Linked DNA regions of Homo sapiens: regions 1, 2, 3, 4, 5 and 6 are each linked to region 7. Evidence: promoter capture Hi-C in 16 types of primary human blood cells and fetal thymus (Javierre and others, 2016). All regions are on one chromosome and are shown on one strand. The core of a region is centred on a gene start or on the middle of the fragment in contact, and the rest is flanking DNA. Distances in the headings are between cores, read along the strand shown.

Region 1 (3,399 bases), core at 1-2,500, 810 kb before region 7:
TCCCCTGCCAACCTGACTCAAGGACTTTATTTTGAAAATGGTTTGGAAGAACAGAAACCTCAGTCTGAACACCGTCATCTTTGCGTGGAGCAAATTTGCCCTTGAATCTGCTCTGGGAAGGCCTCCCATGATCTTCCACCTGCCAGGCTGTCTACTAAGGTCGTGCAGCTCACAGCCCTCACCACCCCAGCCCCCCTTCTTCCTGAATGCACACTAAGCTCATTGCTGCCTTGGGATCTTGCACAAGCTATTGGCTCTGCCAGTAGCGTTGTGCCAACTCTACCTGTCAGCAAATCTCAGTCCAAATGTCATGTAAGAGAAAACTTATCTGACCACCTACAGATAAAGGAGCCCCTCCACTCATTCTCATAATAACTTATTTGCCTTGTTCTAGTACGTTGTAGCACATGGCATTCTTATTTGTTAAAGTATTTGTAGGCATCCTTTCACAGAAATCTAAGTTCTTCAAGGGCAAGTTTGATTTCATTCACTTACTACTGTGTCCTACGCCCAGAATGGTGTCAGCACATAATTTGTATCTAAATATTTATTGACTGACCAGAAAACCAAAAGACCCTAAAACTGAAATTTATTTTAATATTTTTATTCTAAAAAGAATCACAAAATTCAATTTCAGGTTAAATAATATTTTAGTCTTAAAAAATTAACAAAGGAGGAAGATTTTTAAAGTTTTGTTTTATATCCAAAAATGCATTCCTGATTTCCAGATAGCTCATGCAAAATCATATGTAGTGATATTCAATATTTAATAAAAGGACCTTTAGCCAGTAGTACAAATTGGATTCCATTTGATCAGAAGGAGTTCTGATCCCCAAATCCCATTTTGAAAGATTCCTGAAAAGACCTCGAAGCCGCAGACAAAGTTTATTTGAAAACATAGTTTAAAATTGCACAAATATAAATACAATTTAATAATGTGAAAAAGGGAAGGCATGCTTCCAATAATAGTACAAAAATACTACCTTAATCTTGTTACGCAAATTAGAAGCCAACTGAGTAAATTAAACACATCAATATGATAAGAGGTTATTTTTATGGTAGTAATTTTATTTCAAAGAGCAACGCAGGGAAATACTAAGATGAAGCCTTAATACCCAACAGAGTTGTGCTATGATACATATTATTTCACTAAATCACTGATACAGTATCACATAATATGCCAATCACTTTAAAATCCCCTCCCCCCCATTGCCATTAATTTACTATAGGTCACTTAATTTGAATTGGTATTAATTTAGTAACGCAATGTAAACATTTAAACTTAAATTTTTTTCTTGTTATCTATTTCAGCCTGAAAATGAAATCCCAAGACTTTAAACATTTATGAGCATGAGGAGGAAGCATCACAGAAGAATTGTCTCAAAACAACATTTTTAGATTAGATTAGAGATGCAATATTCATAGATATATAAAATATGTAGAAATGTCTTTTCTAAATAGTTAAATGTTTGTTACAGTTTGTAAAAAGTTTAATAAATTAATCAGTTTTTTTTCAACCAATGTAAACAAATTTGGGCAATGTAAATTGAAAGTTTGGGTTAGATGATATATAGGGAACATGAAAGGAAGTTGGTAAAAACTTAAGTTTGCTGTATTTCCCTTAACTACTGGTAATGTAGTCCATCATGAACACATTTCTCACATGGCAGAATTCTTGTATGGTATCCATGCAGAAATGCTATATATCTCAGTGAAAATGCCAAATGCTCGAATTACCGAGCTGAGTGTGTATACCTCTTAGTCTTTTTGTGTTATACCATTTCCCTTTCCAAGAAATCCAAAGAACACGACCCCTCCCCCTCCCCCAATGAATGATACACATTTTATAGTTGAGCAAAGAACTGCCTAATTGTTGTTGTTGTTTCCATCTTAATATTATTTTGAGTGCAGGCTTCTATTAAGTATCCCACGGAGCTCATCAGGGTTTTGCTCTGACATTCTGCAGCATTGCAAGTTAGTTTTCTCTTATAGAGAAGGTCCTGAGAAAACAGTTCTGACATTGGGACACTTGTCTCTAGACTGTGTTATTTTGGTATTTCTGCAGAAGCTGCAGGTAGTGGAAACTTCGTTCAAGGCAAAATACCACATGAGAGGTTGTTAAACCTCACAGTTTAATTTTCTGTGTTTTTTTTTTTCCTCTTAACTGTTTAATGCCTCCCCACAATCGTCTTTGCTATGTGTGTTATGTGTAGAATTCTGTCTTTGAGTTCATGGTATGTGTGTGAGGGTACCGGGGTATATGGAGTGAGTAACAAAGCTGTTACTAATGTAAGACCACATGGTCTCACTGAGCTTTGCTCTCTCCCTTTCTGGTCTCCTCATAAAATAGGGGTTATGGGAAAAGGCAGTGAGAAGATTTCAGAGTTGGTTCTGAGTGACCGTGAAATCACCTCATCACTCCCTAAATATCAGTGTTTTTAGACCTGTTGATCAAGTCCAGTTTCTCAAGGGACATTTAGCCCAAGCAGCTCAACTACCATACAAACAGGGCTGTATCAGAACAATGTTGTGATACCCCACACACTTGCTATGTGACATTTATGAAAATTAAGGCCCCATATCTACTTCGTTGTGTGATGATTTTGATGTGCCTGACATTACCCCAACCTCCTCGCCTTATTTAGAATATCAGTTTTTCTAATTTATTCCCAAACTTTTAGAAAAATTTTGAAATGCATTATTAAGAATTTAAAGTCGAAACCTTTATGTGCTGAGGCAGTCAACATGATTTAGTTTAGTAGCATTCAGACACTTGGATTTGTTTAAGTTTGGGATCTGTTGTGCCTCAACTGGTTTTTGAAAAAGTGTTTAGATGTCCCAGATTCTTCAGAGGATTAGTTTGGCACTGGTAACACTGTAGAAACCAGATGTGTGAATATCTGTAAAGTTCAGTGTGATAGCATGAAAACAATCTCAAGGATAGGATAAGAAAAGCAAATAGAAAAACTGTAACACAAAGTTCATAAAAATGCTCCCTTGTATAGAGGCAAGGAACAACAGGCTAACCTATGAGACTTAATCATGCACTGTGTAAATTTAAATTCAGTCAAGTTATCTTGCATGCTTTGGTTAATATTTGAGTAGGCAAATTTGCAATACTAATGCATGCAATATTTTTGTACCTGAGGTTATACGTTTTGCTTTTAAAAAATTGCTTTTTTACAAACTTTATGCCAGAGTTTATCTATGAACACTCTTTAAAAAAAAAAAAAAAAATATATATATATATATATATATATATCTACTTCTTAGTTCAAAACAGTTTAATTTCAACCAGTTCTATAACTATTGAGATGATGATAGGGAAACTGCAGTAAAATGTGGATACGAAATGAATTTGAAATTATTTTACAAGGTTGAAATCATAAGTGTGCACGT
Region 2 (3,843 bases), core at 331-2,830, 770 kb before region 7:
CCTCAAGGGTCTCACAATCACTTGGAAGGAACAGCTGGGGTGTTGAAAAGTATTCTGCACCAAGTCAGAAAACATACACTCTTGTCCTGGTGCTACCACTCCCCTAGAGATGTGATCTCAGCCAAATCAAATAACCTTTCCTCACATCCAAATGTTTGGAAAATATTTCTGTAAGTTGTGAAGAGTTATACCAGGGTTAGGTGATGTTATTGTTGTTGCTTTTTTTTTTTAAATAAAAACACTTTTCTTATATCATTTGAATGTTCACAGAGATGTGAGACAATATATCAGTCGGTAATGGTTGCTGCTAACTAGCACAGCACAAAACAATCCTAAGTTCTGAGAGGACAAAACAGCAATAGTGGCTTTGTCTTTTTTCTCTGGGAGGCAGAGCTTGTGATTTATTTTTTAAAAGTATATTTAGAATCTGAAGAACATTGCTGACTCAAGAGAAATGTGAATTGAAGGTCATAGTTGCATCTAAAGTTATGCTGTCATGACTTTTGAATAATTAAAAGATTGTTTTCAGGGATAATTGTAGTCCCACATTTTAACTAAATATTTAAGGAAAATAAACGATAAACATGCTCTATTTTCATATGGGGAACTCCAAAGAGCCCATTAACTGTCCAGATGGCCCGGAATGGGATTAAAGCAGATTTAAATTAGGGATCACTGAAATCTTCAAAATTAGATTTAAGTGGGTGTTAGGAGAGTATTTTAGAGACTTCCTAAAATTCACTCAAAATATGAGAAAACAATGATTTTTATTTCATTTAGGTATCTGTATTGGTATTTTTTGATCAAATACTTCAGAAAATTTTTAGAAAATAATGTAGGCAAACCAAGTTCATTGTAGGCAAATTAGACAAATACATGAACAAAAAGAAAAAATAACCTTCCTAATTTTACTGTCTAGATGTAATCACTGAGAGCACTTCAGTATATCTTATTTTAGGTTTTCCCCTTACATTTACATGTAAAAACCGTTGCTCGTCAACTCTGAATCCAAGGGCCAGTTATTTCCTTCTGTGAGCTCTAGTTTTCTCATCTATAAAAAGGAGTTAAAATGCCTACTTCACAGGATAGTCAGGAGGAGCACATTTTATAACACTTATAAAATATTTGGCAGAGTGGCTGGAACATAAGTGCTCAACAAACATTAGATGTATACTTATTTTGTGAAAGTAGAACTTTACTGTGCACATAATTTTATAATCCTTTATTATGGATATATTTACATATCAATAAAGAGGCCATTGATTTGCACTGAGCTCCTATACTAGGCCCAAGAGACCAAATCAAAATGGAGTCACTCATGCTGAAGTTACAGGCCACCAAAACTAAGTGATTTATTTGACCTTTTGAGAAATCAGGAGAGAGAGAAGAGACAGATCCCCAAACAGGCCTCTTTTGGGTCCCTGTTTCTGTTTTCTTTAGCCTCTTTTTTGCTTATAAAGTCAACTTCTTCTGCACAGCTCATCAGATAACCTTTTCTAAATTTTTAGAATTAGGTAGACGCTATGCTTATTCATGAATCACAAATAAAAACCAATTAGATCATTTAACCAAATTTGTTGTGGTTTTGTCTTTTGACAGTAGTCATGGGATTATTCAGGTGGTATATTTTAGACTAAAGTCTGAAGTCTACCTTGGTTTGGGCTTCTTAGCCTTGAGAGATTTTGAAAAGTCTAATCTGAGATACCTTATCAAAAATGCCAGCAAAGCAGACTTAAAAAGAGCCTATGTGGTCAATCACTATTCATGCTGCAGTTATGTAAATAATCAGGCCAAGTTTGATGAGACTATTTTGCAAAAAATTAGTCTTACTTTGATTATCTTTGACAGAAATGGGGGTGACTATAGAGAGAAAAATTATATTTTAGAAGAAAAACTATAATACATTGTTGTTAGATTGTATTCCTATTCATTTCTTTTGAGTTTTTGTTATCTACCTGTAGACTGGACTGGATCCTAAATTCTAGTTTCTTTCAATATCTGGCTATAAATTTTCAACTAAGAAAAAGAATTGCTCTGTTCCTGAAAACCTATAAGCTGAAAGTGAACAATTCAATAGAAATTTCAGGGAACAAGTCTCATTCCTTATATGTAGGCCACACTGAGTTTACCAAAGTACCTGATGCCGTAACTGAGACCTTCAAACTGCAAATCAGAATGAGAAGTTGTTGACTTCCTACTGTGAACAGCTTTTCCCAAGACATTGGAACAAGACTCCTCATCATGATGAGACTCTTAACTCTCTTAATTTTTCTTCACTTATGCCTACCTCTTTCACTTGGCAGGATAATGCTGTAACTTCACAATCAGTAGCTTCTGTGAATAACTTGATGAAGCATTGGATCCATTATGTCATCATGCCATACCCAGATCTTTATGCAGCCTAAGAGATCCTTTAGTCCACCCGGTGGCTAACTTTAGCAACATCCCTTACATAACTGTTTGCTCAATTGGTACAAGTGGTCCCTTTTATAGAGTTAGACTTTTAGACTAACTTGTTCGCACTATCTGTTCTGATTTAACCCAGTCATGGGATGCTAAATAGTGGAATTGCTACCTACTAGCTGAACATGGAGAAATCTGTGCAGTTGCTGGCATTTCTTGTTGCACACGGATAAATACGTTGGGTATTGTCAAAACTCAGTTGTAAAAATTAATAAACAGGCTGCTTGGTTAAAACAGGTAGACTCCTCATCTGGCTCACTGTTGGATCTATTAGATTTTAGTTGATTTAGTTCGTGAGAACCCTGGCTAAGGAGTGCATCCAAACTCTCAGTATTATCCTCCTGATGGCCATAGAGTAGTCTTCCTGCTGTGTTGCATTCCCCCAAAAGTTTTAAATGTTTGCATGTAGCCATCCATCAAATACCTACCTTGGCCTTCCAGTGTTTGCTGAAAAATCAAATTTTTAGATACAGACTGTCAATAAAGACGTTATGTATCTTTTCTTTCAAGAATAATCTTAAAATGTTTTTGAAATTCTTCAAAATTTCTGGCCTTTTAGTGGCATTCCTTCTTATTACCTAGTACTAATAACGTTTTTTTCCACTTGTGTTTTGTCTGTTTATTCCAATAACAATTTGAGAAAAGGAAATTAAAAACAGGTAAAAATCAGAGATATCATGTGATTCAGATTTCAGAAAAATTAAAGTTTCCTTAAGTTGCATTTAACTTGGTTGTACTGGGCTGCCTCTACATACTGATATGTCCTCAAAACACAAACATTCAATTTCAAGAGTATTAAAAGTAATGGTGACCTTTACTATAGCTTCTCTTAAACAAATATCAACAGTCACTTTTTTAAAAGCCAAACATTCATTTGCTTCTGATAAGTTCTGTGAGTTTGACTAGGAATTAAAATGTTTAGATTGTAAACCTATGTCTTTTATTAGGCCTGGGAAATTTTACATTGTTATGTACAAAACATCACTATCCTTGTTGCTGCAAGACTTGGGTTTGCATCTTGACTGTTGTCTAACTAATAACTGTTAGAATTATTTTGAAGATTAAGTAAGATAGAAAATGTGTGTGCAAAACAGTACAAGCTTGACAAATAATAGATGCTTGATACTTGTAGAGGATGGTAGGATAAGAGCAAATAAAGATATTTCTCAAATTAAGGAATTTTAAAAAGAAATAATTTAGCCATCTATTGATTGTTTTTACTTAAGAAGGAAACGCTTTATATATATATTTTAAAATGTTATCTTTTATCCTCAGTGTTCTGACATAGCTTGCTCTCCAATGACAGGCTTTTAAGGAGAAAAAGTTTCCAACACAGGCTGTTAAATGTATTCGTTGTTATGGAGAACACAATCTCTAAAC
Region 3 (3,612 bases), core at 415-2,914, 670 kb before region 7:
TCTCTGTGGTCTACTCTGTGTGCTATTTACTCCACACATGGCTTTACTCTTGATTTAAAACCAATCTCCCCCCTCCAAATGTTTCTCCTGAGTCTTCCAATATTTCTGTTTTTGGCACTAATATTCACTCAATTGCTCAAGTCAAAAAGCCTGGCAATTATCCCACGTTCTCTTTTTTCCTCACCTGCAATATCCAATCCATCAGCAGAGTCAATAAATCTTGAATGCGACCACTTCTCGCCACCACCACTGCTGCTACCCTGCCCTCATCTCTCAGCTGGACTCCTGAACTGGTCCTCTTGCTGCTGGACTGTTTCCATCTGACCCCACAGTGCTCTCCTTAACAACCAGAGGAAAAGGCAAATCCGATTACATCAGTGCCCTCGGACCAGCCAGCCAAGATTGGATCCTACTTTCTCATTCATCCTGGAGTCAGAACCTCCTCCTGCCCAGCCACACTTGCTGTTCTTGGAACTTACTAAGGCTTGTTCCAACCTCACAGCTTTGCAGTTGCTGTCCCTTCTGCCTTCCACCAGAACTCCTCGGCCTCTTTTCATATTCAGGTGTCAATTCAAGCATCACCTCCTCAGATGGGCCTCCTGATTACATCATCCAAAATAGGCCCTCCTTTGCTTTATCTTGTGCTAATTCTGTTCAAAGTCCCTCCATCCCTTTATCTCGTGCTAATTCTGTGCAAAGGACTTATTGCCAATTATGGGTATTTTTCTATGTTTGCTGTTGTCTCTCCAACTAGAATGAGGCTGTTCAGGAAACCCTGGGCTTTCTCCACAACTGCCACATTCACAACATTTAGAGTAATGCCTGTCACATGGTAGGTGTTCAACAAATATCTGTGAAATGAATGAGTAGATACAAAATAAAATATTGTTTAACCGTGTAAACTTTCTGGGTAATTTTGGAAATGGCTTCAACTCATAGAAATGGTCACCATCCAAAACAATTTTTATGATTTCTGGGTAATGCCCCATTTTAGTGTGTTTAGGAAAAAAGTAATGGTGTGGACTTAGGCAGATCCGGGTCTCAGTTTTGAATATATATGTCCTTGGAATTTTTAAGCAAATTGTTTAAACTCTCTGGAAGTTAGTTTTCTCAGTTAAAAAATGAAAGTTTGAATTTTGTGAGCTCAAATTATTTTTAATTATCTATTAATTAAACAAGTATTTACTGAGCATGTAGTATGTCCTAGGCATTTGGGATCGCTGGTGAACAAGACTGATGCCATCACTGTAAGCTTACAGCTTAGTGAAGGACTCGGGTTCTTCCAAATGGTGAAACGTGTGATAAAGAGAGGCACATGGTACAATGGAGCACAGACAGGGACCCTGACTAAGTGTAGGCTCTCAGGGTAAAGACAGAGGCTGTGGCTTGAGATCTGAAAGATAGTTACGATTAACTAGGCACAGAGGGGTTGGGAGTCCTGCCAGTGTAAGGAGAGAGGCATGTTCTAAGAAGGGAAACAGGCCAGTGTGGCTGCCTGCAGAGAGTGATAGGGAGAGGTAGGCAGGGGCTAGCCTGTGTCACTCAGAGAGTGGTATGTGGACTGTGAACTGTTTGCTACCTTACTGGGGATGAGGCAAGTATAAAAATTGGAAGTCTACATTGTAGAAATTTTTGTAGCCATTTCACAAAGTAATTTTATGTTTGTTAAACTAATAATAAAATTGGGCTTGCATTTTGTGTGACTTTTTCCATTTCATTTATTTGAAAAATTAATTGTTATTTTCTTTATAAAATCATCAATCTGCAAGGAATTGGACATTAAAAAAACAAAACCAAACAAAACCTGCCCTTCACCATCGTTTGTGTAACCTTGCAAGCTAAGTTAAAGATTTTGGTTTTCATCTTATGAGAAATAGTGTAAACTGTAGCAAATGCTCATGTCACTAGCACACTAGTTTGCTGTTTAAATGGGGGAAGTTTTAGCCAATAATTTTCTTTTCTATTGTAATTATTTAACCTAATATATCAAAAATTATCATTTCAATATGTGATCATAAAATATTATTAATGAAGTATATATTTCTGGGACTAAATCTTTCCAAGTCACTCTGTATGTTAAGCTTCCAGCACATCCCAATTTAGGCAATGCATTTGAATGCACAGGTCTTGTTTCCCCACTTTTATTTATGTTAAGGTTGATCAGTGGGTCCAGGGACTATCTGCCTGTTCCTTTCATATAATTGTTTAACATTTGCCAACAATTCTCTTTACTTCAGTAATAGTTGAGTAAAACCAGTTTGCACGCTTACAGGAAGCCAGATTGTGAGCCTTTGGGTGGGCTTATATGCTCCTGCATCACCAGAGCCTACTTTATTACAGAGAGAAGCTCAATAATATTTGCCAGATTAAATTACAACCATAATTCAGAATAGCCATTCTCAACATTTTCAGCCTGTGATCCAACTGGGAACACCTGTACCCATCCCTTTTGGAGGAGGTCCCAGGAGACAAAGAGCCATTTACAAATGGCTGAGGGTGGGGACTGAGAGAGTGCTAGGGCCTCTCGGGGACACACACCCTTCCTTCCCCACTTAAGCTTCAAACAATGTGTCGAGGGGCCTTTAAAAACCATTTACAACAAATGGTGGGTAGGCAGTGGACAGCATTTAAACAGTTGTGTATCTGAGTTACAATCTCAACTCTCCAACTGATTCTGGATTGAATTTTAAGCATTTTCCATCATTTCCTGCAAGCAACCATCACCTACCACCGGAAGCACAGTTCTGTGTTAGATCTAAAACTCAGTGATTCTTATAAAAACCCAGCAGTCCCTTTTGATGTGACAGAGAAAAATTGAGGGCAAAGACCTAGAGTTGGCTTATACTCATTCCATTTTATCACATAAAGAACAAAACTACTGGAGCACAAGCCCCAGTTTTTGCTGAAGGCAATTAAATCCTAACCCATTCCAGCAAAATCATCAAGATCCAGGCTTGAAGCCCCTCCATGCCATTACCTTTCCATACATTCTCCTTAGTCTGATGACTGAAATTTGTAAACAGCTGTCCCTGTCATTAGTGTGAGTTACTGAGAATCCAGCTGTAATTCTATTCTTCTTTTCTAACTCTGTTAAGTTATATCCAAAAAGGGAAACATGTCAGGCCAGTAGGGCTCACATGATAATGACTTATTCCATCAAGTCTCAATAATCTTCTAATGAAGAAAAGTACCGGCAAGGATTACCTAAACCAAGGGATAATCCTAAGTGACATGTTTAGAAACCCTGATTTTTTTTTAAGGGATTAGCTCTAGCCTCCCAAACAGTTAAAAATCAGGTTGCTTCCCTAGCTGACAGCAGGGGGCAGCAGATCAGAGTCAGTTCTGTGCAAGTGGTTTCAAGGATGGAAAATCTGTGATGGAAAAATCCTCAAAGTACTTAAATCTAAATATAGAAAACCTAAAAGTTGATTCCTCATTTAAAATTTATTTGACAAAAGAGTAGAGCTAAGTATAAAGAATTTTGCATTTATTTTCAGTCCATATTCTGTATTACATTTATTTTACAGTTCATATTGCATTAGGTTGCATCTTGTGAAGTTGCCATTTTTTTTTTTTTTTTGGTAAGTCAGAAGCTGTTAAATATTGGTAATT
Region 4 (3,797 bases), core at 12-2,511, 780 kb before region 7:
CATCAATGATAGACTGGATAAAGAAAATGTGGCACATATACACCATGGAATACTATACAGCCATAAAAAGGATGAGTTCATGTCCTTTTCAGGGACATGGATGAAGCTGGAAACCATCATTCTCAGCAAACTAACATAGGAACAGAAAACCAAACACCGCATGTTCTCACTCATAAGTGGGAGTTGAACAATGAGAACACGTGGACACAGGGAGGGGAACATCACACACTGGGGCCTGTTGAGGGGTCGGGGGCTAGGGGAGGGATAGCAACAGGAGAAATACTTAATGTAGATGATGGGTTGATGGCTGCAGCAAACCACCATGGCACGTGTATACCTATGTAACAAACTTGCATGTTCTGCACAGGTATCTCAGAACTTAAAGCATAATAAACAATTTTAAATTAAATTTATTTATTTTGATTAATTATTATTTATTTTAAATTTAAATTTCTGCTTTTCCTTATTATGAATATAGTACATTTTCATTGTATAAAGTTTAGATAATACTAAATAATATAAAAAGATACAAAAAGTTACCTGTAATGCCACAACCGAGATACGACCACTAATATTTTTGAGTTTGCTTTCTTCTGATATTTTTTGTTCTTTTTGTTTCAACAGTTTCCCCTCAAGATTTTAAAAATACTGATTCTTTAGACATGTTTTTGCTAAGTGCTACCACCCATACCCCGAAATATGAATCCCACATACTGTATATCTGTTTACCTACTAGGGCCCTTTGGAGAACTACAAACCATTGTCATAGCTAAGAATTTTTTTGCCTTCACCCTGAACCAGTTTTTGCCTGTTGGGGGCTATATTGCCCCTGTTGAGCATGCATGTTTTAAAGTTAAAGATTTTTTTTTAATTGTAAAAATTTAAAGAATACAGGATGTATAAATAACTGGTATTTTCTATGAGCATATAAATTAAACAAGTAGGCACATATTACATAGGCAGTCTTGTAGCTTAGGCCTCGCTTAGTTTTATATTGTGATTTCTCTATGTTATTAAAATTATTCCCATGGATAGGCTATATTTATTTACTCAATCCCCTATTGATGAACATTCAGGTTATTTTAAAGTTTTTGTTATCATAAATAAAACTACGGTGAAAGCCTTATGCACAAATCTTTGCTGCATGTACTTATTACCTTAGGATAGACTCCCAGAGGGATTTATTAGGTTAAAGGTTATGAGCTATTTTTAAGCCCTTGAAATGTGTAGCTAAATTGTTTTTGAGAAAAATTTGTCCAATTTAAACTCTCATCTGAAGTATCTGAGAGATGTTATTTGTTGCAATTTTACTTGCATAGATTGTCATAAAATCTTTTAAATTTGATAGATACAAATAAGCTAGTGTGTTGATGATGTTACTAAGGTTTAAGAGTAGATCAAGTGGAGGCCTTCAGTCTCCATAGGTGCTTAGAAGGACAAAATGCCCCATCAAAAGCCACAGGGTGTGACTGGCTTATGTGGGGTTAGTGTGGGTATGGGGTTCTGGGAGTAAGGGGCTATGGAGCTCAGGCAGACCTCGGGGGCACGAGTTACAGCCCAGAGTCTGATGATCTGAATCAATGTCCTGTGTTCTCACTTAGCTATGATTTCCTTGTGGAAAAGACAGTTACTTTTAATGAGATGGTTGTTCTAATTTTATGAGATTGCCTGGCCCATTGAGGGACAGAGTATTTGGAGGAGAGAGACATTTTAATGACTATGTAGATTGCAGATCTACTAAAATCGGAGACTATTCGTCATCACATCCCCAGTACTTAGTGTAAGAGTAGATACTCAATAAATATTTGTTGCATTAGCAAAATATCATGAATGCTATCCAGAACTGAATATTACTGAGACTTCCTCCGCCACAAAATAATAATATATACTTATCTATATATAGTTTTTCTTTTATTCTTTTAATTAATTAATTAATTTTTAATTTTTGTGGGTACCTAATAGGTATATGTATTTATGGGGTACATGAGATATTTTGATACAGGCATACAGGCATACACGTATGTGATGTGTGTAACAGTCACATCAGGGTAAATGGGATATCATCACCTCAAGCATGTATCCTTTTTTTGTGTTATAAAGAATCCAATTATACTGTTTTAGTTATTTTAAAAGGTACAATAAATTATTGTTGAGTGTAGTCACCCAATATGCTATAAAATACTAGATTTTGTTCATTCTATGTAACTATGTTTTTGTACCCATTAACCATCCCCAGTTCCCTACCCCCCTCCCCTGCCCATTACCCTTCCCAGCCTCTGGTAACCATCATTCTACCCTCCATTCACATGAGTTCATTTGTTTTAAATTTAGCTCCCACAAACAAGTGAGAACATATGAAGTCTGTCTTTCTGTGCCTGGCTTATTTTACTTAACATAATGACCTCCAATTCCATCCATGTTGTTATAAATGACAGGATGCCATTCTTTTTTATGGCTGAATGGTACTCCATTGTATATATGTACCACATTTTCTTTTCTTTTCTTTTTTTTTTTTTTAAGACAGGGTCTCATTCTGTTGTCCAGGCTGTGTACTGACACCATCACAGCTCACTGCAGCCTTGACCTCCTGGGGTTGAAGTGATCCTCCCACCTCAGCCTCCTGAGTAGCTGGGGACTACAGGCGTAGTCCCCTATAGTCTCCTGTAGAACTGTAGAACTACAGTTCTTTCTTTTTTTTTTTTGGTAGAGACAGGGTCTCACTCTGTTGTTCAGGCTCACATTGTTTTTTATCCATTTGTCTGTTGATGGACACTTAGGTTGCTTCTATATCTTGGCTATTGTGATATATGCTCTTTTAGGTAAGAAAGTTCCACATTTTTCTTTCAAGTCATTTACACTTATTCCTCAGTGTTCCCCCCAACCCCACCAAGTGTTTTTAAATGCATAAATCCTAGAGCAACTGGGACTTCATGAGTGATTTGGCTGGTTGTTCACTGTACTTGTGCATTTGCTGGGGCTCCTATCAGGGGAGTACCTCTAAGGAATCCTCTTGGGACTTTACCTGGTTGTGTGAGAGCATCTTTTCCACAGAGTTTCTTTGCTGGCTATATAATGACCACCTGTGAAATATAGCCCCAAGTCTCCACTTCATTCCCATGCCACTGGTATCACTTCTGTTGTTGGTAAATCAACAGCACTCACATGACTGGCTGACAAGAGTATTGTGACATTAGACCAATTCTTGTTCCAACCCACCCTCAGTGTCAGCTAGTTCAGTAACTGGCTAGCAGTCAGGATCCAAGCTCTGGTCAGCTGCCAAACTGTCTGTCTGAACACCGATAAAAATAAGAGCATTTCATTCCAACTTGGCTGCCTTCACACGTTGGATAATTACGTTGTCTCATTCTATCAGAATTTCTTCTAGGTCAGATTGACATTAAATTGTCTTTTTAATTACTGTGTTTTTGACAGAATAGCTATTGACTAATCTATAAAATATGATCCAAAAAGGTGGAGAAAAGTAGTCAGCATGTATAGGAACAGAATTGGTTACCTTCTCACTAGCCGAGATGGTTACTTGGTTCTGGGCTTCTTGGTTCTCAGATATCCAGTTCCTCCGAGCCATTTCTTCCCATTCTGCTTGCATCTTATCCCAAAACTCTGTATCTGACTGGGAGACAGGAAAAATGAATGGAGATGGATTTAAGAACATGCCACATCATCTGTGTTTTTCTTCCCCCCCTAATAGATAAAAGAGGCTTCTGGGGAGGAATAAAATGGCTGATGACATCCAACTGATAGGCGTGGCTGAAGAGCTTCTGGAGGGTACTCACTGG
Region 5 (3,469 bases), core at 660-3,159, 710 kb before region 7:
AGAATTGGAGCATGAAGAGGAAGTTTGCAGTGCATACAATTCTCACTGATTCACCTGCAATTGGACATACAAGGTTATCTGTATTTTCCTGGGGTAGTTCTCGAGTTTTGAAGGGGCCAGCTCTTGTTTCACGGATCAGAGGAATGAACCTCATCTGATAGTATGTGAACTTGTTTAATTTCCTACCTAGAATTTGCCAAGTACCATTTAATTTCTTGATTACTGAAAGTGAGAGCTGAATTTAGAAAATGATTGCTGTGGTGTGATATAAAAAAGTCAACGCAATTGAAAATGAAAGTGTAGGGAATACATATTGTTCTCACCTAAAATCTAACAGAAATTTTTACACCAGTTAGAGTTTACATGGTGTTAAGCTTTTTCATGGATTGCTTCCTTTAATCTTTCCAATGAACTTACGAGATGTAGATCTTACTATTATCAGACAAATGAAGAAACTGAGGCTTAGTTAAGCAACATGCCCCTGGATACAGAGCTGGGGTTGGAATTCATGGAGTTTGAACCCAGAAACTGTAAAATATGACCTCACATAACAAGCCTGTCTATCTCATGCTAGTTACTCTTCTTGTAATTTTTGGCATTTTGGAAAAATCACGATTTCCTTCTCCTGTGATTTTATTCACTTAGAAATATAATGAAAATATGCAAGCCAACAGCAAACTGAGGCCAAGATGACAAAATGGAACAAATTTAACAAGACAGTATGTGATTATCCTTTTCTTTTTCCATTAAATTCCGCTCTGCACATCCAACATAACCTTTGTTCTTTGATTCTGAACATCATTTTTTCATTCTTATTTGAATGACATGACTTTGAATGTGAATGCTGACCAAATGAAATCAATGCAGAAAGACTGCCTCTACAAGGGAAGTGTAATTTATGCCAGTGGCATCCTGTACTCACTCATTGGATTAATACTTATTGAGTGCCGATTCCTATATGTGACAGGCACCGAGCAGGGGATGGTTTACTATTTGATAATGTTTAATTCCAGGAGAACATTCAAATAGATTGTTGTAACGGGGAGCAAGTAACACATTTACATGACAGAAAATGAAACCGGCTCTATACTATCCCAAAGCTGCAGGATATTTTGTCATTTAAATCCACTTGAAAAGGTTGCCACATTTTTATTTACTGGACTTCCGTTATACAAAATATTTCCAGAAATAATTGGACCATCAGCCAGAACTTGAAAACCTTACTCTGAAAGAGATGTTTTTGTTTTAAAGATTTTCTAATGTGATGAGACTTTAGATATAAATATGCAAATATGAAAATATACATGAAAACATGATTCATTGCTAATAGTGGTATACTTATGTTCTGCAAAATTGGTTGGGTAATATACATTGCAATTTCTGTGATTTATTGGTTTATGCTAAATAGTATACATTCTAAAGTTTCATTTGGTTGCAAACGTTCTTTCCTCACTTAAAATGTATTATGGAAAAAATGTGCATTTTACTATAGTTAAAATTAACTCTAGTTGAGGAACAGTTAAAAGTGAGAGAATTACCAGCTGTATTGGATGTTACTGGCCTTGCTATTGCTTCCGATTTGGTTTCACAGAGAAAGTCATCGATGGAGGGACTCAGGAGGGGTCTGCTTTCTTGTTGCTCATTCACCAGCTGAGAACAAATGAACAGAGGTGTCAAAGGGCTTTGTTAAACTGCAGAGTCAGATGAATTAAAATGCAGCCTTGCAACAAAATGAGAATAGCAAGCCTACCAAAAATAAATAAATACATAAATAAATAATGGGGTGGGGGCAAGAAAGAAAAAATATCAAGAGGTGGGGAATGAGCCTTTTAGCACTGTCAACATATTTTTGATGCAGCCAACTTCAATGTTTAAAGCTCAAGCCTTTCCTCCCCCCTCCTGAAATATGATTATTCTCTAATTTCAATATATAGAAAATGACACGTATTGAATCATAGTTGCTAAGGGCCAATCCCACTCCTCACCTGGACAAAAGCTCCTACTGAGACCTGGACCAGTGGCTTCAGACTCAAAGATGACATGTTCTGGTTAGCACTGCTCAGTCAGTGTTTATGTGGGGAGTGCAAACACACGGATCAGTGTGGGTGGATAAATGCCTGCCTCGTCTCCCTCTCTTAAAAAGCTCAGGTCACCTAAAAACACACCCTCTACATTTCCTTGGAATGCTTTTGTATTACATAACAAATATTATTTTGGGAGAGTAGAAAATATTGTTATATTAACTGTGTAGGTATCTAGTACATGCGTTTATAAAATCTATTTGTAAAATATATCTCGGTAGATTCAATTGTGTTTTCCCATTAGCTCATTTTCTAATTTCAGCAATCTTTCAGTTTGATTTTTTAGTGGATCTCTAATTATCAGTGGCAACCACTATTTACTTTCAATCATTCTGCACCTCTTTGAATCCCGTCTTGCCGAGTTATGTTTCTACGGTTAAGGGAGAAAACACACTTTTGATACTCAGGTGGTTGATCCCTAAATTAACTGTTTTTTTTGGGGGGGGTGGGGGAGCTTTTATATTTGCCTTTCATAAAACAGGCATAATCATCTAGTTTTTTGCTTAAGAAAAAGACACACCTCATAATCTTTAGGTTTTTTTGTTTTGTTTTGTTTTTTGTTTTTTAAATAGGCACAGGATGTCTGTCACCCAGGCTGGAGTGCAGTGGCATGATCATAACTCACCGCATCCTCGAACTCCTGGGCTCAAGCTATCCTCGCATCTCAGTATCCCAAATAGCTGTGACTACAGGTGTGCACCACTATGGCCGGCTAATTTTTAAAAATTTTAAATTTATTTTTATAGAGACAAGGTCCCACCATCTTGCCTAGGCTGGTCTTGAACTCCTGGGCTCAAGCAATTCTCCCACCTCGACCTCCTAAAGTGTTGAGATTACAGGTGTGAGCCACTGTGCCTGGCCAATCTCTAGATTTTTTAAGAACTTATTTGTTAAGTTGCATTTTAAGAGGCATAAAATAGCAAATGGAGTGCTTTGGAGTATTACCAAATCAAAATATTTTATATTACTCTACTCACCTTCGCTACATTGTTTCTCTGGCACAGTGTCAGCAGTCTCATAGTTTAGAGCTGATGGAAGGTGGCAGGGGACCTGAGTAATGGTAACTATGGGGAGAAAGTGCACTTCTTTTATTTCTGAAAGGGCAATATGGAAGCACTTAGTGGTCTTTTGGAGACTGGAAGCCAAGAGACACATTTAGTACTCATATGCATGCTATTTAAAGATGGATAAATCTCATTTAAACATGTGTAAATCTCAGATGTCCATTAGAGTTTAAGATTTCAATATAGAGTTGGTAATTAGATTTTTATACATATTAATTTGTTATTGAGGGATGGGCTTTGAGAACGCTTTTCTTCTTTTAACGTTCAAGTTACAGGGATAGATCTTTCTTCAATTATTGTAAGCTTTGGTATTACTATGTATAA
Region 6 (3,791 bases), core at 987-3,486, 750 kb before region 7:
TAGAGTTAAGCAGAACGTGATTTTGAATCTAGGGGGAAAAGTTCATCCTTTGTTAGTCGGTCAGTAAGTTAGTCATATACCTTAAGCACTCACTAGTGAAGAGATGTTTAGATGAAATAGATGCATTAAAATAATAAATTGTTAATTTGTTCATTTATTTATCCAGTAAAAATTTGCACCAGACTCTATGGCAGGTGCTGGGAACATAAAGAAGGATGAATAAAGAAGGAAGTCACAATCTGGTATGGGAGATCGACATGAAACCCATAATAACTATATCACATGGTAAGCTATACTTGAGTGATCACCTGGTTTGTATTTGTCTGTGATTCTTCACCTTAATTACTCCTTAAGGACAGAATTGATCTTATTCAATTCTCTATTACTAGCACCCAGCACAGTGCCTGGCCCATGGAAGCAGCTAAGGCATGTCTGATGAATGTGTTGCTAAATCCAATGTATTCTAAATGTTGCAGCACTTAGAGAGACTAGCTAAACACAATACCAGATGCTGGCTGGCTCTCTTTCCCTTCCTGCTAACGTTGATGAAGGAGGTATTTTTGGCTTGTGGTTGCAGTGTGCTGACTTCTTACATGACCTTCTCTCTCCTCTGCAGATGAAGCATAATTCTCTGTAGAAATCTCCACTCCTGGGAGGCAGCTTTGGGCCTCACTGAGCTCTGGGAGCTCCTTCGCAGTTTGTCACTCCTGTGCCTCCCTGTGCATCCTTCCTAGGGACCTAGTGGACAGTGCATTTAGGCTGCTGGCTATAAGGAAAATCCAGGGGGAAGCATAGAGGAAGCTCCTCTCTCTTTTGTTCAGGGAAGATGCATTTTATTTTTTAAGCCCAGAATGGGAGTATCTATCTCTTTGTCCTAAAATTACAATACTTTAGGTAGAGACAATTTTTCTTTTCTCTTCTTCCTCCTCTTCTTCTTCTTCTTCTTCCTCTTCCTCTTCCTCTTCTTCTTCTTATTCTTCTTCTTCTTTTTGGAGGTAGGGTCTCCTTCTGTCATTCAGGCTGGAGTGCAGTAGCATGATCAGGGTTCACTGTAGCCTCTACATCCTGGGCTCAAGCGATCCTCCCACCTCAGCCTCCTGAGTATCTGGGATGACAAGTACGTGCCACCATGACTGGCTAATTTTTCTGTCTTTTTGTAGAGATGAGGTTTCACCTTGTTGCCCAGGCTGGTCTCAAACTCCTGGGCTCAGGCAATCTGCCTGCCCAGGAGTTTGAGACCAGCCTTGGCAATATGGTGAAACCTCACCTCCCAGAGGACTAGGATTACAGGCATGAGGCACCACGCCAGACTTGATGTTTCAATACAATGTTAAGATATGGAGGAAAAGATCCTCACCCATATAAGGCTTAGCTAGAGCTAAGAGTTCAACGTGAGCTTGAGGAATGACAGTCTTTGCACATAAACAGGTTCCCAGGTCATTTACTACAAACAATACATGTTCATGTGGTTTTAGTTGTCTTTTCTCCAACAGTGGATAATGTATTTTAGGGCACTTCAGCCAAAAACTTAGTCGATTTGCACATTTCCAGGTATTAATATAAGTAAAAATGGGTTCATACCATCTAAAATACAAAATATGCCCAATGTTACTGGCAAGATTGGTTGGAGCCTGCATTCTTATAAATGTGTCTCTCTGACTGACATCAAGACCAAGACAATTACAGAGGACACTGCAGCCCAGTCCCAGGCAGAAATCTGTATGCTTCAGGCAGAATTGTTTAATGTCAACTATTAAAATGGAGATACAGTTATGTTGGAAGGTTATATGGCACTTTATATACAACAATAGATAGATGAAAAAAAGCGTTACCCATACAGAGTGATTAACATTAATTAATGAATGAATTTCATTCATCCATCCATTCAGTCAACAAATATTTATTGATTATTCGTAGGCACCAGACATTGTTCTAGATATTAGGGTACAGTGGTAAATAAGAGACTAGGCCCCTTTTCTCATGGAGGCTACATTTTTAAAGTAGAAAGACAGATTATAGACAGATAAATAAATAAAAACAAACAAGAAAGGACCCAGTGATAAATACTAGGATGAAAAACAAAGGCCTAGGTGATGCAATGGCAATTGAGTGATCAGGTTCAGCTTTTCTGAGGTATTGGCAATGCAGCTAAAATTTGAATGTCAAGAAGGAACCTGCCACCTGAAGATCGGAGGAAAGAGTGTTCCATATAGACAGAAGAGAAGGTGGGGACAGTGGGCAGTAAACTTGGGTGTGGGAGAGGAACAGAGAGAAAGGCAGAAGCCAAAACACCTGGAGCTCAGTAAGGGGACTGAGAAGAAGAAGAAAGAGTGGAGAGGTGGCCAGGTGCCGATCATGAGGCAGGATGATAACAAAAAATGGAATAGAATGTAAAATAGGAAGAACGTTGGAATCAGATGATATAAAAACATAAGGCAGAGATTTTGGAAAAATTCAACTTGCTCCAGGCATGATTTTCATCTGGAGCTTACTAGTATTTAAAATTGCCTCTGATGAAAGCAATCTGCATCACCATTCTTTGTCTTGAAATAAAGAATAAGACACTTTTAGTCCTTTTAAGAATCTTATATCCCACTGTAGTGTCCATGACTTACAACTTTCCCCTTGATTATCAACATAATACATCTTTATGAAAGAACATTTGGAAAATACAAATAAGCCAACAGGAGAAGCAAAAATCCATTCCAAATCCAGCCACCCAAGAATAACTATTGCTAACATTTGGGCACAGAATCTGCTATGGTCTGAATGTGTTCCCTCAAATTCGTATGTTGAAACCTAACTCCAAAGGTGATATATTAAGAGGTAGGGCCTTTGGGAGGTGATTAGGTCACGAGGGCGGGGCTGTCATGAATGGGATTAGTGCCCTTACACAAGAGGCCTGAGGGAATTTGTTAGCCTTTTTTGCCCTTCTGCCATGTGAGGACCCAGCAAGAAGGTGCCATCTATGAGGAATGGGCCCTCAGCAGACACCAAATCTGTTGGCAACTTGATCTTGAGCTTTTCAGCCTCCAGAACTGTGAGCAATACATTTCTACTACTTATAAATGACCATATCTCAGGTTATTTTGTTATAGCAGCTCAAATGGACTAAGACAAACTCTATGTTCATACAATGCAGTGGTTCAGAATACAAACTCTGGAGTCTGGGTGAGAATCGTTGCTTTGCAACTTGCTAAACTTGTTTTTCAACTTGCTAGTTGACTTTCAGTCTATCTTAATGGCTTATAAAATGCCACATAACTGTCTGCAAGGTCTTTAAGCCTCAGTTTTCTCTTCTGAAAAATGGAATAGTAATCTTACTTTCTTCATAGCACTGCTGTGATGATTAAAGGACATAAGCCATGTAATTTTCCTGATTTAGTACCTCACACATAGTACATTCTTTAACATGTTACCTATTATGCTGTTATCATTTTACAAAGTTGGGATTATACTGTAAAACTTTCCATATATAAACTACTATTTCAATTATTGCTAGACATTTTTAATAGTTACATAGTATTTTGCTATAAGGATATGATATAATTTTAGTTAAACTCTGTTATGGGATACTTCGGCTTTTTCCAAATTTTCACTATTCAATGAAATTCTACAGATAAAATATTGCAACTTTCAAGTTACGTCTCTAGGATAAATTCTATGAAGTGGCTGGGTCGATGAGCATAAATATTTCCAAGACTCTTCTGAGGCATATTATTATGTCTTCCGCTATGAATTTAGATAATACCCTGGGTAAGAATAATGTCTGGAAGTAAATATGTGTGAAG
Region 7 (3,844 bases), core at 839-3,338:
TTGAGTACATTTGCTTAAAGTGCATTTCTTCTGTCACTACTATACGAAAAATATCACTCTTGATAAATGCTGTTTACCCCCTAAAAGGAGCTGCTTTCTATGTTCACGGCCATTTCAGATGTTCAAGGTATGAGGTGGGGGAGGGTTATCCTAGTGTTGGAATTAGGAAGAAGTATAGACAGATCCCATAGTGATAAAACCATGTGCTACTGAAGAATGGCCTCAGAAGGTGACATTCCCAGGCTAAGTAACACTATTTGGTGTCTGGTTCTCAGACACCGGTTTCTTAGTCCCTCCAAAAAATGAGGTCCTTGATCACAGATTGACTCTAACACAAATCACATACTTATCAAGATGTCTATAATAATTTTTAGTGGTCAGCTTTCCTTTTCAGTGACAGCACTCTTTCCTAAAAACAACCATTCTCTAGAGTTATGGCTTAAAACAAGTCAGTCTGTACCATTTATTAAAGTTGATATGCCTATAGAAGCTTGAAATTTATTTATTTATTTATTTATTGAGACGGAGTCTCCCTCCGGCGCCCAAGCTGGACTGCCGTGGCGCGATCTCAGTTCATTACAACCCCCGCCTCCGGAGTTCAAGAGATTCTCGTGCCTCAGCCTCCCGAGTAGCTGGGACTACAGGCATGAGCCACCACGCTCGGCTAATTTTTGTATTTTTAGTAGAGACGGGGTTAGGCCATGGTGGCCAAGCTGGTCTCTGAACTCCTGACCTCAAGTGATCCACCCTCGGCCTCCCAAAGTACTGGGATTACAGGTGTGAGCCACCGTGCCTAACCCAAATTTATCTTTTACAGTTGCATTCTTGTTTGTTGCATTTTCTCAAGTCTCAAACTGTTTACCTATTTGCCTGGGTTTTCCACAAAACAGTGTGGCAGTATCGATTATGTTCTGGGCTAGATCTCCTATACAAAAGTGGTAACACAGTGAAAGGCAAGTTGATTTCCTCAAAGACACATGGTGGGAAGTGGAGAGACTAACTGTCACCGTTTATTTCTGTTCAAGAGGACTATACTGAACTATTTACACTGAACATATTTAAATGGTACAAATTTTATACTGGAATAAAACGAAGCTACATGATCTCAAAATTAGGGTTAGTTAGACCTTCCATATGATAAAATACTCAATCCAGCAACTCTGCCTGAGAAGACCAATTAATACTTCGTTTGGAATCCTAACTCTAGCCTCTTACTAGCTGTGTGCCATTGAGCAATTTACTGGGACTCTCTGAGCATGTTTCCTCGTTTTCTAAAATGAAAAAGTACAATAGCTACCATAGTGGTTAGGTTCTCAAGTCAGTAAGTAAGGGGATGGGGGACCTAAGTTGAAATTCCCTTTGAAAATCACTTGAATTGTCCATAAGAACAGTATATTGACTTTTGCGTACATACCACTATACAGTAAGTCCCACAGACACTAAATTTTGAGCAACCATTGAGATAAACTAAATAAGAAATGCATGTGTTCATTAGTTATTGTAAAACTTGAATGGCATATGCACGTGTGGAGACATTAAAGCCATCCTGGTTTTAGAATTCACAATCACTAACAGTAAATGGGGTATGGATGGAGAACACCACTCCAGGTGCTTAACAAATGTCCGTGTCCTTCCTTTCTTCTGCCCTTAAAACCACCTGGAAACCTTCCCGGAGCAGCCGGTTGAATGGGGTTACGCCAGAGACACAGGTATTGATTTACGCAGAGAGTACGTCGAGGGAAGAAGCTTGGAGACTCGTATAGGGTTCTTACCCTGGCACTGGCACTTAGAAGCACCTTGATGAATACGAAAAGGAATTATTATTTACCCTAGGTTACAGCTCGAGCTATTTCGACGTAATAACGATCCCACGTACACTTTAAAAAGCAAACTTCTCACATACATCACTTCCTGGAAGCCCTAGTCAGCCTTTAGCCCAAGCAATGCTGAGCCCAATCCTTCGGCCTTCCGTAGTCTCGCTCGGTTTCGCGAGATCGAGGCTGAGCTCCGCCGCGCCGCCGTGGGGGCGACCCCAGAACACTTCCGGGTGTAACTGGTTGTGCTGTCTGTGTACTTCCGGCAGCCTCCAGACAGTTTCTTCCGCTTCCTGTACCACCCGGCTCAAGTAGCGGACACGGAACAGGGAACTATCAGCCCGTCGGCCTCCGGGCCCTGCATTCTCTAGCCATGGACCGGGACCTTTTGCGGCAGTCGCTAAATTGCCACGGGTCGTCTTTGCTCTCTCTACTTCGGAGCGAACAGCAGGACAATCCACACTTCCGTAGCCTCCTGGGGTCGGCCGCCGAGCCAGCCCGGGGCCCGCCGCCCCAGCACCCGTTGCAGGGCAGGTAATGAGACGTTGGTGCCACTGCGCCACGGAAGAGGGGACGCAGCTCTGGCAGCCACTACCGCAGCCCCGGGTTTGCGTCTAGAGGAAGTGGAGCCGCGGCCGTGAGCACAGGACGATCGCGCGCTGGTGTCTTGGGCTGGGTGGACGGGGGGCGCTCCTGGGTTGTGCAATGCGGGATGCGGGCTGAACTTTTTCTCTGGCACTGCTTGGTAGAGGCGCAGATTCCTTAGCTAAAAATCCCTTGAGCTTTCCTATCTGAGTTGGAGGCGTCACTTTTTAAGTTTCCCCGCTCTCCACCTCCAGGTTGGTTAATGAGGGAATGCCTAGTTAAAACTTTTTGTCTGAGGTTGTATTGTCTGCAGCTTAGGATGGAGCGGAATGGGCGATGAAAGCCATAAGCAGAAGGTTAGAAGTAAAGAGGCTTTGCAGATAACCCAATTTTCATATATATTTTTTTCTTTTTAAGAAAAGAGAAGAGAGTTGACAACATCGAGATACAGAAATTCATCTCCAAAAAAGCGGATCTGCTTTTTGCACTTTCCTGGAAATCAGATGCACCTGCAACTTCTGAAATTAATGAAGACAGTGAAGGTCAGTTTAGCCTTAAAATCTTTAAGATTGCGGTTCGGTTTAACAGTACTTCAGGTGAAACGGAACTCAAAACTATCGTTAGTGATTTTGTTAATTTTTTTTTTTTAGATCATTATGCAATCATGCCACCTTTAGAGCAATTCATGGAGATACCTAGTATGGATCGGAGAGAGCTGTTTTTCCGAGATATTGAGCGTGGTGATATAGTGATTGGAAGAATTAGTTCTATTCGGGAATTCGGTTTTTTCATGGTGTTGATCTGTTTAGGAAGTGGTATCATGAGAGATATAGCCCACTTAGAAATCACAGTAAGTTATTTTTGTTACTTGGATTGCTTCTGTTTTTGTTAACGCATCTCAATGCAAGAACTATATCTTTGCATGCAGTTGTGCTCAAGTATACCTGCCAAGATGCTTTTGGAAATTAAATGTTAATTGGAGAAAAATAGTTTAAAAAAATTAGTGTAAGTTACCCAGTTTCTCCCTCCATTTCTGGTTTTTGGGATTTTTTAAATTTAAACTGGTTGGCAGGCACAGTGTTCTTTTCTAAATGCTCAAAGAGGTATCAGTGGACGTGGTGAGGTTGATTGATATTCAGACTTATTTCTTGTAGTTGAACATATGTATTCTTAATTAGTTAATATTTGGCATTGTATATTTTCATGTGGATAATTTGGAGAGAAGTTTCATTTATATATTTACAATAATTAAATGTAAGTGGTTTGTACATTATATTAAGATACTTTGCCCAAGATGGATAGTCCTGAATTTAAACTAATGTGTCACGATAAAAGATTGGGTATTTGCCATCTATCCAGGCAGATAAAAAGGAAGAAAAGCAGAAGGTATTACAGATTGGATAACAGACAAAATACTTTGGAGAATTGGCATTTCATTTTCACTG

Evidence for each region. The method cuts DNA at HindIII sites, captures the fragments that hold promoters and counts their contacts. A CHiCAGO score of 5 or more calls a contact.
Region 1: a fragment that was not itself captured here is called in contact with the fragment with the promoter of TTC14 in region 7 in 3 of 17 cell types (M2 macrophages, endothelial precursors and M1 macrophages); the score reaches 7.9 in M2 macrophages.
Region 2: a contact is called between a fragment that was not itself captured here and the fragment with the promoter of TTC14 in region 7, in 2 of 17 cell types (M2 macrophages and endothelial precursors). The highest score is 5.6, in M2 macrophages.
Region 3: a fragment that was not itself captured here is called in contact with the fragment with the promoter of TTC14 in region 7 in 5 of 17 cell types (endothelial precursors, M2 macrophages, M1 macrophages and 2 more); the score reaches 21.4 in endothelial precursors.
Region 4: a fragment that was not itself captured here is called in contact with the fragment with the promoter of TTC14 in region 7 in 3 of 17 cell types (endothelial precursors, M2 macrophages and M0 macrophages); the score reaches 6.6 in endothelial precursors.
Region 5: a fragment that was not itself captured here is called in contact with the fragment with the promoter of TTC14 in region 7 in 1 of 17 cell types (endothelial precursors); the score reaches 5.0 in endothelial precursors.
Region 6: a fragment that was not itself captured here is called in contact with the fragment with the promoter of TTC14 in region 7 in 3 of 17 cell types (M1 macrophages, M2 macrophages and M0 macrophages); the score reaches 10.0 in M1 macrophages.

Annotation. Positions count from the first base shown.
Region 1 is chr3:179,794,370-179,797,768 of GRCh38, forward strand. PEX5L (peroxisomal biogenesis factor 5 like) reads right to left here. Exons shown (of 15, transcript NM_016559.3): 15 at 589-3,399. LOC124909464 (a long non-coding RNA gene) reads left to right here. Exons shown (of 2, transcript XR_007096183.1): 2 at 1,312-1,527. Among named protein-coding and RNA genes, the nearest start is that of PEX5L-AS2, 100 kb to the right of the region's middle. The HindIII fragment of the contact is 4,807 bases long and covers 1-3,399 here.
Region 2 is chr3:179,835,144-179,838,986 of GRCh38, forward strand. The region is part of intron 8 of PEX5L (peroxisomal biogenesis factor 5 like); the gene reads right to left. Among named protein-coding and RNA genes, the nearest start is that of PEX5L-AS2, 61 kb to the right of the region's middle. The HindIII fragment of the contact is 3,962 bases long and covers 1-3,561 here.
Region 3 is chr3:179,925,926-179,929,537 of GRCh38, forward strand. The region is part of intron 2 of PEX5L (peroxisomal biogenesis factor 5 like); the gene reads right to left. Among named protein-coding and RNA genes, the nearest start is that of PEX5L-AS2, 30 kb to the left of the region's middle. The HindIII fragment of the contact is 829 bases long and covers 1,251-2,079 here.
Region 4 is chr3:179,816,346-179,820,142 of GRCh38, forward strand. It overlaps PEX5L (peroxisomal biogenesis factor 5 like), which reads right to left. Exons shown (of 15, transcript NM_016559.3): 9 at 3,515-3,631. Among named protein-coding and RNA genes, the nearest start is that of PEX5L-AS2, 80 kb to the right of the region's middle. The HindIII fragment of the contact is 5,838 bases long and covers 1-3,797 here.
Region 5 is chr3:179,886,135-179,889,603 of GRCh38, forward strand. PEX5L (peroxisomal biogenesis factor 5 like) reads right to left here. Exons shown (of 15, transcript NM_016559.3): 4 at 1,539-1,650. Among named protein-coding and RNA genes, the nearest start is that of PEX5L-AS2, 10 kb to the right of the region's middle. The HindIII fragment of the contact is 3,074 bases long and covers 373-3,446 here.
Region 6 is chr3:179,852,838-179,856,628 of GRCh38, forward strand. The region is part of intron 8 of PEX5L (peroxisomal biogenesis factor 5 like); the gene reads right to left. Among named protein-coding and RNA genes, the nearest start is that of PEX5L-AS2, 43 kb to the right of the region's middle. The HindIII fragment of the contact is 6,436 bases long and covers 1-3,791 here.
Region 7 is chr3:180,600,075-180,603,918 of GRCh38, forward strand. TTC14 (tetratricopeptide repeat domain 14) reads left to right here and starts at 2,089. Exons shown (of 12, transcript NM_133462.4): 1 at 2,089-2,348; 2 at 2,817-2,941; 3 at 3,050-3,249. The coding sequence starts at 2,188. TTC14-DT (TTC14 divergent transcript) reads right to left here and starts at 2,039. Exons shown (of 3, transcript NR_183700.1): 1 at 1,829-2,039. RefSeq lists an enhancer at 1,880-2,169. The HindIII fragment of the contact is 2,365 bases long and covers 1,745-3,844 here.